Regions from separate parts of the Homo sapiens genome. Here region 2 is linked to region 1. Evidence: promoter capture Hi-C in human tissues and cell types (Jung and others, 2019). All regions are on one chromosome and are shown on one strand. The core of a region is centred on a gene start or on the middle of the fragment in contact, and the rest is flanking DNA. Distances in the headings are between cores, read along the strand shown.

Region 1 (4,061 bases), core at 475-2,974:
GTCTGTGTTTCAGCAATGATCTTGCAGAAATGAGGTTGGGTGGGTGAGGGGCTTGTTGGGGCTGTGTCTGCACATAATAATTCCTCAAAACAAACACTTTGTTGCTGGCACAGCAGAAAAGCAATCAGGCATTGACAGGTAGAAAATAGCTTTTACAGCATGGGCGATGAGGAGCCCCAAAGCAGCATATAAAGCAAATCCTTCATTTCTCCCATACGTCTTAAGTAGTGAACCGCAAGGATGGTGCAGACTAAGATTGGGTCTACCTATAAGATCTGGAGGGGAAAACGGCAAGACCAGAAGAAACCGTCGCAGACTTATTTGCATAAGCACCCAAACACTGCTTACGTCACTGCGCCGGAGTCCGGACCCCGCCCCGTCTTACTCCAGCCTTTCCCAGCTAGGGAGGAGGATGGAAAGGGAAAGCGGGACGCTGGAGAGCGCGAGCCTGGGGGCTTTGCTTCCTAAAACGCACATCAAAGGCTGCTTCTCAGCTCAGGAAAAATAATTCCCGTTCCCGCAGCCTGTGCCACTGGGTGGGTCATGCCTGTTCCCGAACGCCTCGGGCGTCTTGATTCATTCTTATGTATCCAGTTGGTGCGCTACGTTAGAGTGCAAGGATTTCCCTGTACTCAATACCGTCTTCTTCCCAGTCACACACAGACCAGCCTAGTGAAAGAAAGGTAGAAACGATCTGGGTTTCTAACTGCTTCCCATCTTCTTACAGTCCCAGCAGCACCACCCTCACCGCCACACTCTCAAATTCCAGGATGCGCAGAAACACAGGAGCCGTGATTTCTCCAGCAGCCACGTGCCTTTCGTACGGCGAAAGGCCCCCTTTCGGGCCATTTATCACAGGATACCTCAAGCAAAGGGGAACTGTGGTCACGTGAAAACACTCTGTCCTCGGTAGTCGCCTTCTGCCTTTGCTAAAGCGAACGGAAGCGAATGAGGAATAAAGCTCTCTGCTCTCCCCGCCCCATCGCCCACCTGCACGAGGTTTAGCTTCCAATTCACCTCGCGTCTCTCTCTGCCCCAACCCTCCCAACTTTCCTCTTGGACTTTCCCGTGTTGGACCCCACCCTTCAACCAACCCCGACTTGGCTTGGAAACGAGTAGGTCTCTGGGGATGCTGTGGGCAATTTCCACGACGGGAAGAAAGGATGGCGGCACGTTTCAACCCATGTGCTTCCCCTTACATGTGCAGCCTGTCGCCCCCCACCCTGATTGTACAGAGATGCAGAGTTAGACGGTTGCCCGCCCAGCCCAGCTTCTCCCTCCCAGGGCTTTTGAGCTGCCCTCCCTCCTCCCACCCCAGGACGCAGCGAGTCCTTCCCGGCATCCATCCATCAATTCGTTCCCGGTGCTGGTGCCCAGGCTCCTGGGTGGCTAATGGCGAGCCCCACCTCACCCCCAGTTGTGCCCTTAGCGTAGGCGCTTGCCATTACCGTCAGTGTGTCTTGACCAAGCGCCTCTTGCTGCTTCCACGTCCGGGCAGCAGCAGCAGCAGTCGCGAAAGGGTAGGGTCCAGGTGGCTGTGACGGAGGCCGAAGAGGAGCTGTTGGCAGAGAAGCAGCTTCTTGCCTAGGTTGGGACCCGGAGCTGGGTTTTGGGGGTCGCCGCCCTGCAGGCTGGCAAGGAGAGACTCGTGAGCGCCTGTGTGTCTGCCAGGGAAACAGCACGGGATACAGGCGCGCGGGTGCGGGTGCGCGTGTACATGCGTATGTGTGTGTGCGCGCGCGCGTGTGTGTATGTGTGAGGGTGTGACGGAGGCGCCCACGTGCTCGGCCCGCCCGTGTTACGGCCGCCTACCGGCTGCAGAGGAGAAGGGTAGGCTGTGGGCGGCGGCGGGGCGCGGAGGGGTAGCCAGGAGCGCAGGCTGGGCTCCGCACCTCCCTGCCCCAAAACCCATTGATGCAGCGGCCACTGCGGCTGCCGAGCGGCGTCTTCCCAGAGCCCGGGGCTGTGCCCGCCCGATGCAGGATGCAACTGAGGAAGCCCGCTCCAAAGCAAAACAAAACAAATTCCTCCAGCCATGCCGTCTTTCTCCAACCCACTCAAGCGAAAGAATGGACACCAGTTACCAGCCGCTGACTTTTGTCTCAGTGAGAATAATAATAGGCATGGTGCTACCTGGCACCATCTGAATATTCTCCAAGAGTCAGTAATGGGACTAGAAAAAATGGGTGACCCAAAGAACCCTTTTCCCTACCTATTCCCCCAAGCCGGCCATTTACATCTCTTGCGAAAGAAAAAGCCTCTGGGCATTGGCTTCTCCGTCAGGCGGTGGCCTCATAGCGCTCAGTGATTCTCGCCAGGTTATGAAAGGCCGTTTTAGAAAGCTGGCCCTCACCCACCCTGTGTTGGTGCCTCAGCAGCAGACTTTTTTCCAAGGGGTCTCATTACAAGATGAAGCCTGACTTACCTCTGCTAACAATCAAGGCATGCTCGTAATTAAGCCACGTGGAGAATTCCTAAAATATACACCTCTGAACACAAAGCTTAGCCTCCTTTTGAAAATGGCTGAACCGTCCCCTAAACAGTGCGTATGCTCTAAGGATGAAATTTTCCGTCCTTGAAACGTTCAAAATTTGAAAGAAATACAAAATGAACCTAGAAGCTAGGTAGAAAGGTTCAGTAATTTAGCAAAGTTAATTTTTCACTTCCAGATTATTAATATTACTCTTAAAAACTACTTTTGTGCACTTTTAGGCCTTTTAACAATCCCTTAGATTTTTACGGTTCGTATCCAATTAAGATTGAATTAAATTAAAAAGGCCATTGCAAACAGGTTTTTCATGCAGTGAAAAATCTCTTGGAAAGAAATCACAAGACCTAAATTTCAGGTCAGAACATTGCTACTAATCCTTAGCTTTTAAAACAGCCAAGAGAGTTTTTTCTCAGCCTCTCTTCCAATCCCAACTTTGAAAAATTAAAAGTTAAGAAATTAAATTAGATTTGATTCCCTGATACGCCTCCCCTGCCATGAGTAAATAAATGCTCTTTGATAGATGCGCCACGTGAAAAAATAAAAACAGTCAAAATAAACCTTTTATAGGACTTTTTTTGCTTTTTACTTCACATTTTGGTGACAGGCAAATATTTAATGTTGATATATAAAGAAACTGAAATACAGTACCAACATTATCAATAACAACTGAGAAAATTTTAGGAAAATAAGGAGAGCTGTGTCCACCATGATCAGGATTAGGATTATCTGTGGGAAACAAAGTTATCCATATGCTGGCAGAAATCGTTTACGGTAGTACCAAGAAGTACGAAAATTATTTCTCTCCCACGCTTTTTCACTAGTGTCTGATACCTAATTCCAATACATATGCATAGGTCACAAAATATTTGTAGAGCGATGCCCTCCATAATGACTGATACTAATTTATGTCTCAATGCCAATGAAGAGAAGTAGGAGAAAGCAACTATTGTTTTAAGCTTCCCACTAAGTACCTGGGGCTTAATAATATCTTATTTAATCCTCTCAACTAATTAATGAGGTGATTTTTCCTAATTTAGAGATTAGAGAGAGGTGATACTCAAAAAAAATTGCAAAAAGTCAGAAAACTTGTTCAATGACAGAATGGAGAAATAAATTCAGATATGCTGGCCTCAAACTTCATGTGCTTTTATACTATCCTGTAACCCTTTAACAAATTATCTATTTTAACAGGAGGAAAGGGTGGAATCTCAACACAAGTGGTAGGCAACTTTGAAAACAATAAATAGATGAAGAATGGAGAGACCTCAAAAGGAGAGTCTGGGAACCCTAGCCAAAGGTAAAATGTATTCATTTTTAAAATTTAACAACAATGAGTCTTCAAAGATTTAAAATTCAATTGCTAATATATTTTAGGGTAATGATTACAGAGTTCTTTCTCTGTCACCATAGGGCAAAATGGCCAACATGGGATTGGTGTGGGAGGAAGAGGCAGCACACAGAAAGGAAAAAAACAGAACTTGGAAGAATTAACTACAAGTTAAGGGAGACTAGTGCTTCCAGCCACACTGTATTTAATAATATTAACAAGGATTGATTAATGTTAACTATG
Region 2 (4,245 bases), core at 1,120-3,619, 87 kb after region 1:
CAAGGCAAGGGTTCAGTCAGGCCCTGCCCTACAACCATAAAATCTCATTGAACAGTTTTTTAAAATTATACACCTGGTATAATGTGGCTTACATTCCAAGGTGAGTCTGGTATGGCATCACATGACAGATAGCAGACCCCCTTGCCTTAACTAAAGCATTCCTTTTAACTGACTTCAAGTCTTTAGACAAAGCTTAGCTCCTTTAACCAAATGCCAAACTAACAATCCTTAAAAACATCTTATGACTTAAAAATCCCAGCTTTGAGATGTCCCACCTTTTCAGGCTAAACCAATGTACAACTTCCATGTATTGACTTAAGATTTTACCTGTAATTTCTGTCTCCCTAAAATGTTTAAAACCATACTGCAACCCAACTGCCTTGTGTGCACTTTCTCAGGACCTATTGAAACTGTGTTCCTGAGGCATGGTCACCATATCGGTTCAGAATAAAGCTCTTTAAAATGTTTTACAGGACTTAATTTTTTTTTTTTCATTAGCAAACCGATTACAACAGAAGGCAGAACTATCCATGAGCTGCAAGAGAAATTACATCCCTTATTTTGACTGAACCAGTTTGAGCTGAGTTTTCCATTTCTTATTTTGTAAAAGAATGCTAATAAAATTTCCCTTGATTCCCAAATCGTCCCACCCCTTTGAACCAAATGAAGGTAACTGAAGTAATTAAGACAAAATAATGGTCATCTCTTTGGGTTAGGATTCCATGAAAATCCCTTGAACTCATATTTGTCACCTCCCATGTGCAACAGAAAGGATTTAAAAATAAACAAGACAACATCTATGACATTGATCTGTGAAATCTGCAGATGTCAGGATAAAATCACTTTTGCTAGATCCAGACAAAATAGGTCTGAGAAGGCACAAAGGAGATGGGTTCATACAAACACGCTTAACTAAGAAATTGTTTCCAAGGACTTTCTAAAAACCCCACAAGAAATCCTTTCACATCTTTCACATGTTTCCTGTTTTCCACAGCGTGTATGTTTCACACATATTCATATACTCCTATGACAAGACTTATTACTAGATTTTCTTTAGGACTGTAGTAATTCGGATAAGATGTTCTGGAAAGAATATTTGCCCAGTAATGGCATCTCTGCCAATGAACTGACAACAACTCTGTCTTTGAGTCTCTAGAACGAATAAACTCTGTTTATAAGTAGCTTATGTGAACTTTTCCCATGTTACCAATAAGAGCTTCCTTTTACCTTTCCCTCACCAGATGCACTTGTGGCTGGCCACTCAGTGCATACTGGATCCTAATACTTATTTCTCATTCCCTCAAAAACTCAACATAGTTGGACATATTTTTCTCTAATTTTTGGAGGGAAGGGGAGCCTTGATAGAGCCTAGAAACTAACAAAGGCCAGGATGGGTAACAAATAATTAATAAGGAGGTAGATATTTTATTGTCATTATTTAAAAAAACCTGAGGAATTAAATTTAAATAACTGCCTAGAGAGGTGACAGAATTGATGGAGTATAGAGCTGCAGACCAAGCTACTTTGATTTATATGAACTGTCAGCCAACACATAGTAGTAAATATTATGTGCTGTCTATGTTACATTCATATACCAATAAATCCCACCTGTTTATGGGCATTTCTATTAGTAATAAAAAAAATAGCTGTTAAATTATAAAGAATTTGACTGGCATTTGCCTCTGGTTCCTAGGAAACAATAAATTATTGGGATTTTCCAAGTGATAGTATTTCTTTGTTATTCACAGCAGGCTTTGATAATTTATGTTAATGAGATGACCCATGATGGTCATTACTATTGGCTTCTGTTAGCCAGATGATTTGTGATGGGCATAAGCCACTGCCAAAAAACCAACCATGTGATAAAGGTATTGGAGCTTTGACTCACATGGTATCAGCCCAAGTTCCAACATCAGGGGAAAAAAGAAAGGCTGGAAGTTGAATTCAATCAGGTGCTCAATGATTTAACCAATAATACCTACTTAATGAAACTGCAATAATGACTCTGGACATCAAAAATTGATTATCTTCCTGGTTGGTAAATACACTGATGTGGCAGGAGGGTGATGTGCTCTGATTCCGTAGGATGAGTTCATAGAAGCCTTGTGTTTCTTTCTAGGTTGCACTGTATGTGTTCTTCATTTGGCTGGCTCTCCTGACTTATGTCCTTTGTAATACAACTGTAATCATAAGTATAGTGCTTTCCTGATTTCTGTGTCCTTTTAGCAAGTTATCAAAACTGATTTAGAGTCATGGAAACCTCTGAATTTATAGCCAGTCAGTCATAAGAAGTATGAGTGTCTCCTGATAACTCTAAAGTGTGGCTGTAGTGTATCAAGTCAGGGCAGCCTTCTTAGGGACCAAGTCTTATAATTTGTGGAATCTGTGCTAACTCCAATTGGTCAGCTGCAGAATTGAATTGCAGTGCACCCAGTTGGTTTTAGACAATTTGTGCTGAAATGGAACAACAACATAAACACCATAATAAAATTTCAGGAACTAAAAAAATCTAAGCAAAAAATGTATCTCAAGTCCAAATCTAATACAATGATATTTAAAGAAAAAATAAATTTTCCCTTGGCATTTTTTCATTAAAGTATAGCAAGGATTTAAGAAGAATTTTATGGAATGCACTGAGCTTTTGGGAGACACTTTAATGAAAGATTTGTGAAGAGAGATATTTTTAAACAGCTTTTAAATTAGAGTTGCTGCTGTTCATAGCTCATAGTTGAAGACTGAGAGAATTGCAGCTGCACATGAAGACAGCCATACCTGAATTCCTTCTGCACCTTATTCTGCAGTAAGGACAGAGTACTTCCAAAACATTTCATATGCCATTGGAGTCATTTGAAGTAAGTTAGGTGGGAAGAAGCTTCTGAGGCTCAAGCAATTATGTGACTCAAGAGTCTAGAAGTGGATCCAGGGCTCAAATTCAGGTCATTTAGTTCATAACTGTGTGGTGTTTTTCTGCTATAACATACTGGCCTAAGGATAAAAATAGGCTTCCACTAAGTCAATAAACAGGGAACATGTATTTACATATTCATTATTTATTATCGTTTTTACAAATCCTATAAAGTCCACTTCTCAAACCCTACTGACAGTAATATTCCCTGTAAGAGATGGACCTTATCAGAAATCCACTAGTATTGTCAGGAAATAGTGTTGATTTAATGTCAGTTATCGTAATTTTATTCTGTTCTGTGCAGTTGTAATATTTTATCCAGCAAACTTCAACTACGCCAGAGTCAGCGTAGACTTAGCTACTGAAATCAAGAGTGAGAGAAGGGTGGTTGAAAGATGTTACTAATGAATCCTGAATCTAAGTTAAAAAAGAGATGAGGACAGGAGGTTGGTGTTGACAAATAAAAAAAAATTCTAAGCACCCCTAACATATCTCTTCTTGGCCAAAGGGACCCCAGAGAAACCTTGGAAGCTGAGTTCCAGCCATGATGGCATAGGAGGTTGGGCATGCCTCATTATAATCCCTAATTTGCTATCCACTATTAGGCTTTCTTTCCTAAGGGATAAAGAGAAGTCATCCCTTTCAAAAGACTCCATCTCCGATTTCAACCGACTGATTTAAACTGGTTCTGATTTCAACTGCTGCTCTTCCCTTTTGCAGTTTCAACACTACTGACCTGCATTCCTTCTTAATAAGAGACCAGCAACTATGGAGTGATTCTGGACAGTCTACAGAGGATCCACATTAAGTATCTTCCTGTCTTCTCTTTCATGTTTTTTAGACAGCCAAAAACTCCACCCTTGGACCCATGAAGAGGCATGAGGCCCAATTGTGCCTGTGCACGTTTCTCCTTTTGGAAATATTTATGACATTCATGACTCCTTCTATAGCTCATTGAATATGTATATGTAGCCACCCATTCAGCATACATCTGTCTTATTCTTCTGAGCCTCCTCAAGTGCCTGTTTCTGGCCTCTGCCCAGAGGCTATGCTTCCCAGGCTGTGAAAATGGCCACTTGCAGGCTGCAACCCTTTATAAGAAATAAAGCTCTGCTTTCCAAATTTATGAACCTGTCATTCTTTAGTTGGCAGTATGATTAGCGAGGATGTGGAGGGCTCAATAGACTGGAGGACTACAGAGTAAAAAAAGTGTTTCTATGGGGCACTTAGAGGCAGGGTGGAAGTGTGGGGAGATACCAACATATTTTTCTAGTCTCATTTTAAGCCCTCTGAGTTCAGAGGACCAAGAGGCCCAATCACCCTAGCTGGTTGGATTTAGA

The links. Contacts are between HindIII fragments. The study calls those that stand out against the background at their distance.
Region 2: a contact is called between a fragment that was not itself captured here and the fragment with the promoter of SLC6A15 in region 1, in 3 of the 25 tissues and cell types used here (H1 embryonic stem cells, dorsolateral prefrontal cortex and thymus).

The regions. Positions count from the first base shown.
Region 1 is chr12:84,911,075-84,915,135 of GRCh38, forward strand. It overlaps SLC6A15 (solute carrier family 6 member 15), which reads right to left and starts at 1,725. Exons shown (of 12, transcript NM_182767.6): 1 at 1,449-1,725. It overlaps LOC102724680 (a long non-coding RNA gene), which reads left to right and starts at 1,763. Exons shown (of 4, transcript XR_945154.3): 1 at 1,763-1,830; 2 at 3,683-3,788. RefSeq lists enhancers at 295-843, 1,392-1,939, 1,940-2,486. The HindIII fragment of the contact is 2,941 bases long and covers 873-3,813 here.
Region 2 is chr12:84,996,997-85,001,241 of GRCh38, forward strand. No RefSeq gene overlaps it. Among named protein-coding and RNA genes, the nearest start is that of TSPAN19, 37 kb to the right of the region's middle. The HindIII fragment of the contact is 5,883 bases long and covers 1-4,245 here.